3 separate regions of the Homo sapiens genome follow, and all the other regions are linked to region 1. Evidence: promoter capture Hi-C in 16 types of primary human blood cells and fetal thymus (Javierre and others, 2016). All regions are on one chromosome and are shown on one strand. The core of a region is centred on a gene start or on the middle of the fragment in contact, and the rest is flanking DNA. Distances in the headings are between cores, read along the strand shown. Region 1 holds the start of TMEM71 (transmembrane protein 71). Region 2 holds the start of NCRNA00250 (non-protein coding RNA 250). Region 3 has its middle 15 kb from the start of MIR30D.

Region 1 (4,174 bases), core at 582-3,081:
GAGTATCAGCAAAATCAAAGCAAGGAAATTGCTAAAAGGAGTCTAATCGTTCAAAAGATAATTGCGTATCACAGTTCTTCTACATTTACTTGCTACTGGTGTTGACATCAGTTGAGATATTCGGTACATCTTGGGAAGGCCGCTTGCTCAAACTTCACAGATTCTCTGCAAAAGATGTTAAAAAAAAGGTGGACTATATATTAAAAATAGAAAAATTATGCCAAAACAGATGGCATCTACTAATTGCACTAGTCAGATTTGTTTACTGAAATAATACAGAGATACAGAATTGAAGGTAGGAGACCAGACTGAAGACACAACCCCTCTAAAGTTGTGTCTGCCTCTATGACTGAACATTTTCCATTGCCTCACTCAGTGCATCTCAATAACATTTTTCTGTAAATAAGAACCACACTTTATTTGGAAAATCTAGACTTAAAAAGGTTGATTTGTAATCCAAAGAAAATAATGAAAGTGAGGTATTTGATTAAGAAATCTTAATAAAATGACTGGTTCTAACAGTCATTTAGCCCCAAAACAAACTTACGTGTATTTTAATCATCTGACACAAGTCAACTTCATTATCAAGTTTCAAACAGTGCTTGGAGATTGGTGTCTGTCTTTTTCCCAACAACTTGAACCATTGACAGGTAGTCACAGAGAGTGATTTTAATAGTTTTTATCAGCCTGGACATTCCTAAACAGCATAAGTAATGTTGCACTAAAGATAGCATACCATTGGGAAGATTTTAGAACTTAGTTCCCATGAAGACATGATTTAATTTCTCAATTACTAATTAAAAACATATCAAAGTATGTAAATTATGCAAACTTTGATCATTTACTGTTCATCAAATAGAACCAACTTCTGTTGACTATGAAACTTTGTATATAGTATCACTATCCTAATCGCTTTATAAGGTAGGAGTAAATTATTTTCTGATTCACCACTTATGGCCACATTTTGTAACATGAGAACTAGTAATGGATTGTTTTTGTAGCTGTAATTCAATCAATCAAACCAGGCTAATTCTACAGCTTCAAGTTGAATATTTCAATAAATTATATATAAACCCTATTAGGAAAATATAAACCTGGTTTATAGAGACCTGTAAAGATGTCAGGAGAACTTTCTGGCCTTCCTTGGAAGATTTCTAAATCAAAGCACACATTTACAAATTTCATTTGTTTGGGATATAAAATAATCCCAGTGTAATGTAATATATTAGTATGTTACTTGTTCTTTTCATTTTTGATCAATATTGTACGGGTATGCCCAGCCCAAATTACCTTATTTTAGTGTTCCCCAAGTATTAAGCTTAATTTTAAGCCTATAAATCCTGCAGCAAAAGAAGGTCTTATTGCTCTATCTCACAAGTGCTTAGAAGAATCTACAGGCAGTACACTGACATTCAATAGAAAATTAGTAACAGTAGGAAAAAAAAAAGCCCTTCAGTTACAGATCTAAAACTTTTCAAGAAACAGAATCTGCCAGTTCCATCAAAGCGACACATCTATTCTGAAAAATAATGTGTGCATACGTGTTCCTTCCAAAGGGAGTTCCCAGCCTCTTCTTCCAATTGACAAAGGACAAAATTATTACTGAAATACGAAGCTTCCTGTGGTTGACAGTGGAAAAATTGAGGACTGAGCAGTTCCTCGGCTGAAAAATGTCTGAATGTCAACAGGTGCAGAAGTCTCTTAATAAAGGGAATCCCACCCTACCTTCTTCTCACAGATGCCCACGCACATTGCTGTGCACAGGTGCTTGCAGAGAAGTTTTGTCTTCGGCAGCCTCTTGTTCTCTTGTCTGTTTCCTGGTATAAATGAGTGTATAGTTCTTGGGAAAGTCAGTCTTACAACTTCTCTTGTTTTCTTTTGAAAACAGCCTGCGTAACCAGAGGCAAAGAAGCAGAATGAGGTCACACTTCCTGTTGGGCTCACATCAGTGGCATTCACACTGAGGAGTGTGCTGAAGATTTCAGAGAGTTTCCTGGGCCAGCAGCAGGGAATGTGCAGCCCATGTGTCAGGCCAGCTGGTTACACCCTGGTCACTGGAGGGGTGGTTTTCTGAGCTAACTTGTCACCTTTGGCTGCGAGAACGTGAGAAAGACTCAGCGAACTGACATTTCTTGCTCATCATATGGCCACATTCAGTTATAAGTAGTGCAGAGTAGTGATCTTTGTCCAAATCACTTAAATTTATTGAGGATAATGCACTGATGCTATTAAATTCAGAATACTATTAAATAGCAAGAGCTTGATCTTATGAAAATTTCTATAGAGGCAATAGGTTTATCTAATGAAGGTTGGACTTCACAAAAAACTCTATAGATGGCATTTTACATTTACATTATAGTAGAGCTCAAAGACTTGATGGTGTTTATGGGTTCATACACATCTGTACTACTGTAAGTGATAAAAGAAATGTACATTCAAATATATATTCCAGCAACATTGAGGTACCACTGCATAGTGGAAAGAGTGCGGATTCTGGGGTCACAAGACAGAAATTCAACCTGTCTACCATCCTAGCTGTGTGACCTCAGATTTGTGACTTACCCCTCTGAGTTGCAGTTTTCTCAATTATAAACATAAAAATATATATGTCATATGATGGCTTGAAGAATTAAATGAAATAAAAGAAATGAGAAATAATCGAGTCCTCAGCACAGATGTGCAAGGTGTATTCTTTATTTGTTTTCTTAAATCAAGTTCTCTTCTGAGGCACCAGTTGGTCCGGCTGGCGGAAAAGTTAATCTCATCCTTTCCTGGGGTTCCCTTTCCCCCTGAGGTTCTGCCACATGGCAGGATCTTCTGTAGAACATGTTCTAGGCAGCAGGAACTGTCAGGAGGAGGGCCCATCTAATTTCAAAGTTCTCTGTCTCTGGAACTTCATGTCTATTCTCCATCCCTTGAGTGTAGACTGAGGCTGCTGACATGCTCCTTGTAAATAAAGTAAGGCAAAGGTGCTGAGTTTCCACTACCATGATGAGGCTTCCATCTTGTTGGACTCTATTACTTTCTTGCTTGCCTGCTTTGATGAAGCAAGCTGCCATGGTGGAGAAGCCCATGTGTCAAGGAATCAAGAGTGGTCTCAAAAGCCAGTAAGGGTCTGATGCTCCATCCAACAGCCAGGAATCCAGCCAAAAACCAAGTGTGTGAGCTTGGAAGTGGATCCTTCTCCAGTTGAGCCTTGAGCTGACTGCAGCCCCATCTAATGCTCGATTGGAACTGGGAAAGACCCAGAAGCAGACAACCCAGGCTAGCCCTGCCCAGCTCCCTGGCCCACGCAAACTGGGAAGTGACAAATGGTATTTCAAGCCACCACGTTTTGAGGTAATTTGTTACACAGCAACACATAGCAGATGCATAGTCCTAACACAGGTCACTTCCTGAGCCATCTGTCATTGCTGACTCTCTGCTGCTTTAGTGACTCCTGTAGAATATAGTCACATTTACTCAAGGCTACTCCTGGTCACATCTGCCTAAATTTAACAGACAGCTATTCTGCTTCACAGCTGTCTGGTATTCTCTTTACTGGAATTCACAGTTCTCTTCTTCTCCTTTTCCTGTTTTTCTTATCCCTCATCCTCCCTCTTCCAGCCTTGGCTTATCTCTTCTAGATGAGGGAGGAAAATCTTTCTGACTTATTCGAGACCCTCTGCTCTTCCTGTGCCCACAAATCCACTTTTCCGAAGAGCTCACATCAGAAAGACTTTGGTCTACTTTTTTTTTTTTTAAAGATCTGGCACATATTAGAACCTTATTATTAATGATCATAATAATTGCTAACTTTAAGGAGTGCTTACTATGTACCAGGCACTGTTCTAAGGTCTTTCCACATATCAACACATTAATTGTTACATCAATTCCATGGGAGATGCTGTATTATTATTCTCATTTTACAGAAGAGCAAACTGAGTTTAGAGAGTTGCCCAAATTCACATAGCCAGTACGTGATGAGTAAGTAGAGCTAGGATTCAAACCCTGATGAGATGGCTCTCGAGTTTGCTTTCTTAACCTATAAGTGTAATGATCATATCCAACGTGTGTCAGCATTTTCTACAAACCAGGCACTGCACTAAACACTGTACATATGTAATCTTGTTTCAACCTCACGTAGCCCTAGAAAATAAGTGCAATTGTTATCCACATGCAGGACAGAGGTTTA
Region 2 (4,174 bases), core at 941-3,440, 2.1 Mb after region 1:
GTGCATGGGCTCAGGTGAGGTTATAAGCACATCCTTGACAGGAGGGTGCTTCTATCAGGGAAGGCCAATATCTTTCCGAGAACGTAAGCTTGTGGGAGGAGGTGGTAAACGAGGAAGCAGTGGGGACATGAAGTGAGAACGCAGTACTCAGCCAGACCAGCTCAATCAGTCCTGGTGATGAACAAGGTGAATCAGCTGCACTACCCTTACGGCCTGTTAGGACTGATGTATTCAAATTAGGCAGCTGCATGCACAGTATGCACTGCACAAACCCAGGGAAGCTATTTGCATGGGAGTCTGTGAATGGCATCCTCTGGGACTGTGCAGTGCTCAACCTCTATGAACATATGTAGCAGTCCTGAGTGACATGTACATGGCATGTCTCTGTCTACTTTGGCAATCTAAATTATCCTGATGATATCTTCGATAATAGAAATAAACATTTGTGGGATATCTACCAATTGTCATCTCAAAAACTTATTTTAATGTACAAATTTTATATCTAAAGATTTGCGCATGTTTCAAAATGCTTATTAGACTGATGTCATTACCATTCATTTATTCTAAAAAATGACAATTGAGCTGCTAAGTTTCAGGCATGATTCAAAAGCCTGGTTCTATAAATGTATTGAGCACCAACTACAAATCTTAGAAACACCATTAACTGATTTCTTTAAAATATCAGCTTATGTTTATGTTTTTTTCAGTTTATGCCATTTTATAATATGAAGATGTCCTCTATATCCTCTTTTTTAGAGATGGAATCTGGCTCTGTTGCCCAGGCTGGAGTGTAGTGGCACGATCTCGGCTCACTGCCACCTCCACCTCCAGGGTTCAAGCACTTCTCCTACCTCAGCCTCCTGAGTAGCTGGGATTACAGGTGCCTGCCACCATGTCTGGTTAATTTTGTATTTTTAGTAGAGATGGGGTTTCACCATGTTGGCCATGCTGGTCTCGAACTCTTGACCTCAAGTGATTTGCCTGCCTCAGCCTCCCAAAGTGCTGGTATTACAGGCATGACCCACCGTGCCTGGCCTCTAAATCCTCTTTATTTCATAGACAATCATCTATTAAAATCTGGAGATGAAATGTTCTTTCATTTCAGACAATTCAATATAGTAGGATGCCTCAGTGAATATAAAGCTTTTACATAATTTTTTTCCTCCTGGCGTTATCAGAAGAGGTAACAGAAAGTTAAGTTGGCTTTGTTAGGAGTCTCCTGGGAGCCCTAGGGAAAGCTACCTTAGTAGAGTGGGTGCAAGACCCCACTGGCCAGAAAAGAGTATAATTATGCTTTGAGCCCTGGATCATTCTGTAGAGGAAAGCTGCCCTCCAACCAGAAACATCTAATTTAGATGGTTATATGAGCGAGAAATAACTGAAAATTTGTTTGTTTGTTGTTGTTATAGCAGCAAGCTTTACTCAATGAATTAATTGGAAAAGTAAATAATATGACCATATTTGCACCCCAAATTTGTGGAGCTGCTCATACTAACAATTTTAAATTCTTTTTTTTCAATAGCTTTTAGGATACAAGTCATTTTTGGCTACATGGATGAGTTATATAGTGATGAATTCTGAGATTTCAGTGCTCCCATCACCCAAGTAGTGTACATTGTACCTAATGTGTAGTGTTTTTATCCCTGGCTCCCCACTCCCACCCTCTTGCTTCTGAGTCCATTATATATAAATGATATAAAGTGATATAAAGTCCATTATGTCACTCTGTATGCCTTTGCATATTCTAATAATGTTAAACTCTTAATTTCTGAACATGCAATTAAGTGAGCCTCTGCCTCTAGTAGTCTTTACAGTTGACCCTTGAACCACCCGGTTTGAACTTCGTTGAGCTGCTATACTTGGATTTTCTTCTGCCTCTGCCATTGCTGACAGTACAACCAACCTCTCCTCTTTCTCCTCTTCCTCATCCTACTCAACATGAAGATGATGAGGATGGAGAGCTTTATGATGATCCACTTCCACTTAATGAAGAGGAAATATATTTTCTCTTCCTTACGATTTTTTCATTAATGTTATTTTCTCTGGCTTACTTTATTATAAGAACACAGTATATAATACATATAACAAAATATGGGTTAATCGACTGTTTATGTTATCAGTAAGGCTTCTGGTTAACAGTAGGCTACTAATGGTTATGTTTTTGGGGATTCAAAAGTTATGCTTGGGAGTTTTGACTGCGCATACAGGGGTTGTTCCCCTAGTTCAAAGGTCAGCTGTATTACATGGCTTCCAGGTCTTTGATGGCTGTGCTATGCATGAGTGTCACTGCTGGAAAACTGTTATGTGCAGTTCCAGAAGCTGACATACTTAGTTAAAAAAAAAAAGGGTTGGGGGGGGCTACTCAGGAGGAATCAATACACACATACATATGTTGAATCACACAGACACTCACGTACTCACATACACACACACACACACACACGTACTCACACATGCTACACAATAGTAGGATGCAGAGTTCCATCATTTGAAACTCTGGAAAAACTTTCACCATTTTTACTATTATTACCAGCATCAACATCTTTCTCGCCATTGTAAGTCAAGACATTGGAAAAAGTCTGAAACAATAATCTTGACTATTCACAGTAACTCCGGAACAATGAAGGAGGAAGAATGAATGAGTTGCGCCCTGAAGATGGTGGGCTCTCCTTTATGCATGATCATCACGATCTCTCTGCAATGTCTGTCCTGTGACCTCGTGAGGTGTGCAGCGTCATGCCAGACATCTGTGTTTGGATGGCCCTCTGGCTCCTCCACAATTACTGCAGAGTCAGAAGTGGAATTTCCGCCTGATGTTTTATGTCAAAATCAGTATGAAAGACTGCAGCATGCTGAGTGAGCTTTCCGTTCTCGCTGAGATGCAATGCAGGGTCCACCCTCTGCAGGCCACAATTTTGCCTGGAGGCAAAGCATTCAGTCTTTCCATTGGCCTGACAATTTGAGCCAAGCTTTGAGGCCAACAGACAAAATGCACTAGCAACTGGAGAGGTGAGTTTTGTTAAATTACAATAACATCCATGCATCCAGGGGAGCTGCAAAAGTCATTCCTGTTCCTGTCAGATGCACTCAAAATCAACAGCCAAATTATTCCTGCCAAATGCTCTGAGGCTATTGAATAGAGTCTTGCACTATTTTAAATAGTAACTTAAAACCTCTAGTTTCATGGCTCAGTAATAATCATGATAATTCTAATCAGTATCCTCATTAGTGAATGCTAATAACTGTTTATTGAGTGGCCACCATGTGCAAGTGCTTTGCTAGATACTTTATGTATGCCAGATATTTAAGCTTCGTAATCGCTTTGTAAGGTGGATGTTATTATCCTGTCCTATCGCTGGAGAAACAAATTCAGGACACGTAAGCAACTTGCCCAGTGTTACCACCCACAGAGATGACGTCAGTGTACTTAAAGAATACATGGGCTAGGCACGGTAGCTCACGCCTGTAATCCCAGCACTTTGGGAGGCCCAGGCAGGAGGATTGCTTAAGCCCAGGAATTTGAGACCAGCCTGGGCAAAATGCAAAACCCTGTCTCTACAAAAAAATACAAAAACTAGTGGGCATGGTGGTGGGTGCCTGTAGTTCCCACTACAAGGGAAGCTGAGGTAGGACGATCACTTGGGCCTGGGAGGTGGAGGCGCAGTGAGCTGTGTTTGCACCACTGCCCTCCAGCCTGTGCTACAGAGAGATTCAGTCAAAAAAAAAAAAGGAATAGTCTTTGAAAAAAAATGGCTTAAGACTTAAGTATGTAAGAGCTACTTCCTAGCTCAGGGATATTTTAAACAAGCCTTTTATTAGAAAATTGTAAACATACAAAACTAGAGAGCTATACTCATCAAGCAGCTCCTATCAGGAATAATTTGGAAGTAAAGGGTTTTGAATGATTTCTACCTTATTTTTCTTGGAGGAGAGCCAAGTCCTTAATAAGAATTTCTGCAGAAGAGGAGCCTGGGGCTGAATCTTATTTATAGAGGCAAAATACTATTTTTATTTCAATCTCACATTCTTACTGTCCCCTTGAATTTTCCAATTAATGCTGAAATAGCAAATAATATGAAGACTTAATTTTGAGTCGTCTAGTCCTCCTCATCCCTACTGCAAATCCTCAGTTTAGGTTTAAGGCAGGTTTATGCTGAGTCACATAATAGTCTCC
Region 3 (4,174 bases), core at 565-3,064, 2.1 Mb after region 1:
CCAAGTGCTATACCATGTTCATGGGTCAGAAGACTCAATAATTTTAAAATGTCAATTCTTTCCAAATTGACCTACAGATTCACTGCAATTCCAATCAAAACGTCAAGCAAGCTTTTTAAAAAAACTGACACTTATTCTAAAATTCATAAGGAAATGTAAAATACCTAGACTAGCAAAAATAACTTTGAAAAAAAGAAAATTGGAAGACTACATGATTTCAACACTGAATAATCAACGCAGTGCAGCACTGGTGTCAAGATCAACAAATACCTCAATGGAACAAAATCGAGTCCAAAATAGAACTACTACATATATAAAGTCAACTGATTATTCACAGGGGGAAAAGGGAATTCAATAGAAAAAGGATAAATTTTCAACAAATGGTGTCTTAAGAACATCCAGATAGAAAAGTTTTCTATACTCAAAACTTAACTCAAAATGGATCACTATATTTAGATAGAAAACCTAAAACTACAGGGAGAAAGCACAGGAGAAAACCTTTGTTGACCTTGAATTACGCAAAAAAAACATTTTTAGATACAGTACCAAAAGTACAATCCATAAAAGAACTGATAAATTAGATATCAAAATTAAAACCTTTGCCCTTCAAAAGACATTGTTAAGAGAATGAAGAGACAAACCATAGACTGGAAAAATATTTGCAAATCATAAATCTGATAAAGGATTTATACATAAGAACCCTCAGAATGCAGTAAGAAAACAACCAACCAGATTTTTTTAACGGGTAAAAGATTTGAACAGATGCTTCCCAAAAGAGAAAGGGATGGCAAATAAACATATGCAAGGATGCTAACCATCAGCAGTCATTAGAGAAATGCAAATTAAAACCACCACTACTCACTAATTAGAATGGCAATAATTAAAAAGACTGACTGCACCAAATGATAGCATAATGCTGGTGGGAATGTAAAATGGTACTGCCACTTTGGAAAACCACTGGCAGTTTAAGAAGAAACTAGGTAGGTATAGAACATATAGCTACCATATGATTCAGTCATTCTACTCCTAGGTGTATGCCCAGAGAAATGAAAAGTTTATGTCCATACAAAGACATGTACATACATATTCATAGAAGCTTTACTTTAAAAGTCAAACACTGGAATCAACCCAAATAGATTATCAAAAGGTGAATGGATACACAAAATGTGGTATATCCATACAATGGAATACTACTTACCAATAAGAAAGAGTAACTATTGGTGCATGGTACAACACGGATGAATCTCCAAATAATGCTGGGTGAAAGTAGCCAGACAAAAGGAGTGCATATTGTATTCTAAGACATGCATGCCAATGTAAAGTAAAAGAAAACAGATAATGGTTGCCTAGAGAATGCAGGGGAGGGTTATCAAGGGACATCAGAAAACTTTTGGGGGTATATGTTTAGTGTCTTGACTGTGGTGATGGTCTCATGGATAAACACGTCAAAACTTAACAAACTGCACATTGTAATATATGCCATTTATTGTATAACAACTATATGTCAATAAAATTGTTTCAATAAAAATAGAGACTTGCCGAAAGTGTTAAGGACAATAAAAAGACTTAAATACATTCTCAACAACAACAAACAAAAGCCAGGTTACTTACTTGCAATAAAACTGCTAACAGATAACCTACATAATTGTTTTACTCCTGCCTTGAATCGGTCTGGGAGTGGGAAGGGGAAGAGGAAGGGGGTGAAGGAAAAAAAAAAGGAAAAAAAAGAATGATCTTTTAATCTGTGAAGGATACGGATTAAAAGAAAAATCAAAGTCCAAGATAGGAAGGAGACAGCAAAAGAAAAGTAATCACTTTTAATTCATGTTTATAGGTCAAGAAAAATATTATCCCAAGACATTAAATGTATCTGCAGATTTGGTAATTTCCAAGGAATCACAATGAAACGCCATGAGAACTGCCGGATTTACCACCCCCCCCCCCCGCCCCCCAACACACCACAAAAGCTCTGATTAATAAGGAACTGGTTTCTCTGACATTACATTTGCTCCCGCTCCTCCAATATTCTAATTAACTACACCTTCTCTGACTTCTTTCTGGGCTCCTATTCCACTTGTCCCTTAAATATTGGTGCTCTTCAGATCCTTGTTCTACTTCTAGTCTCACTCTTCAACAGGGTTTACAACCTTCCAGGGGAGTTTTTGATTTCCTTTGATAATATGATGAAAGCTAGGGACCAGAACAATGTATATTTACATAAAATTTTACATGTAATTATTTCAAAGGTTTCAAAACTCTTCTGAACCTTGGCCATGTATGTATTCCTTAGCTTCTCACGGGGGGAAGAAAAAAAAAAAGATTCCTTTTGGAATCCCAGCCAAGGTTTTGTTTCTTTAAAATCCCATGCAGAGTGAGAAGCACACATAGACATGACAATGGGAAATTTAAATGCTCACAAATAAAATTCACATAGAATCTAGGACATCATGATATCTTTCTGGATAATAGAGAAACAGTTTAACTGGGTATATTCTTAGCTTGCTATTAAATGCTGATTAATAGATTTATGAAGGAAGCTTATAATCACAATTCTGTAGAAGTTCATCCTCTTAAATGTTTGTTTTAAAAAAGGTGATTTGAATGAGGGCATAGAAAATATGCCTATCAAATTTTGGACAATAAGAGGTTGTGACAGTGAGTAGTGGATCACAAACCCAGGGTTTAAAACATATTGACTGATTCAGCCTAGGGATGAGATGGAGGTCAGGAAAGATCCTCAACTTCAAAGATCCTTATGTAATATTACTCTCCTTTTCCTCAACTCCCAATAACCTGTGGAAATGTAATACATCTACCAAGACTGTAAGCTCCTTTAGGACAATGCCCAAGTCTTATCATCATCATACAGCACCTTGAGTGATGCCAGTATCATCGCTTGAACTATATTCTGCTATGGTAACAAATGTCCAAAATCATGGTGCCTTACAGCACAGTATTTATCTCACACTTATATGCTTATCACAGATTGGCTTCAGCTCTGCTCCATTATTCTGGGACCAGCCATAGCTAAGTCATGCTGGTTCCATGACAGAGGGTCAAGGGCCACTGGCAGAACCACAGGATGAAAAATATCTGCTCAAACATGGGACATGTCACTTTAACATTTTATTGGTCAAGGAAAGCCAAATGGTCAAACCTGATGTCAACAGAATAAGAAGTATAATCCGACTACAGAAAGAACCCTGATAGAGAGAAGCAATAAATATTTTTGAAATAATAGTCTACCACAGTGCCTTCCTTATGAAAAGTGCCTAGTAATTGGTAGTATTTATACACCAGATCATAAACACAAGGATAGAGACTGTAATGTGTCTCGCCCCTGACACACCAGCACCACATGGTGCCTACCATATATGAATGGACACACTAAATGCATATTAAGTGAATGAATAATGATGAGATGAGCATGAGATCTGGAATCAAAAAGCTTGCAATGAAGTTCTACATGTGCCAATTCTAGACTTAGTGGAAAGTCAGTTTTTCTGATTCTCAGATGGTTGTTGTGAAGATTAAATAGATGTGAAAACACCATGAAAACTGTGCTATTTTATACAAATGGTGATATCTTCAGATATATAAATTCATTTAAAGTTTTATAGTAATGCAATACATAATATCCTACATTTACTTTCAAAGCATCAACTGGCAAGTAAAGAGTGACAAAGATTAGACTTAAAGTAATTCACATGAAAAAAAGACAAGGTTTTAGTTGATTATAAGCTGAATGTGATCAAAGGGTAATGTGGCTGCCAAAAAAATGCAATGCAAATTTCAGACTACATTAATAGAAACACAGTATCCTAGATAATAGCTTCACTGTATTCAGCAATGGTCAGACCACATCGGAAGTAGTCAGTTCAGTTCTGGCCACTGTATTTTCAGAGGTAAACTGACAAAAACTTTGTCATGAGTAGAGCGATATAGATGGGGAAAGGTCTGTAAACCATGTCACATGCATGCGGTTTAAAAAAAAAAAAAAGAATTTTTTCCCTCAGTTTGGCAAAAAAGAAGACTGAAGTAGAACAGTCATTTTCAAATACTTAAGAGTTATTGTGTACAAGAATAAGAAGTTTCACATACATAGTCCTAGATTTCCAAGAACGAGTAAGAGAGGAAATACATTTAGCTCAATGAAAAGCTGTTTCTATGAGAA

What was found. Contacts are between HindIII fragments. The CHiCAGO score rates a contact against its expected background, and 5 or more counts as called.
Region 2: a contact is called between a fragment that was not itself captured here and the fragment with the promoter of TMEM71 in region 1, in 2 of 17 cell types (non-activated CD4 T cells and monocytes). The highest score is 6.4, in non-activated CD4 T cells.
Region 3: a contact is called between a fragment that was not itself captured here and the fragment with the promoter of TMEM71 in region 1, in 1 of 17 cell types (total B cells). The highest score is 5.8, in total B cells.

What each region holds. Positions count from the first base shown.
Region 1 is chr8:132,758,751-132,762,924 of GRCh38, forward strand. It overlaps TMEM71 (transmembrane protein 71), which reads right to left and starts at 1,832. Exons shown (of 10, transcript NM_001382403.1): 1 at 1,726-1,832; 2 at 90-165. The coding sequence starts at 129. The HindIII fragment of the contact is 4,740 bases long and covers 1,614-4,174 here.
Region 2 is chr8:134,835,301-134,839,474 of GRCh38, forward strand. It overlaps NCRNA00250 (non-protein coding RNA 250), which reads left to right and starts at 2,769. Exons shown (of 3, transcript NR_126028.1): 1 at 2,769-3,009. The HindIII fragment of the contact is 1,553 bases long and covers 1,415-2,967 here.
Region 3 is chr8:134,817,564-134,821,737 of GRCh38, forward strand. It overlaps a transcript of ZFAT not described here. Among named protein-coding and RNA genes, the nearest start is that of MIR30D, 15 kb to the left of the region's middle. The HindIII fragment of the contact is 1,441 bases long and covers 1,095-2,535 here.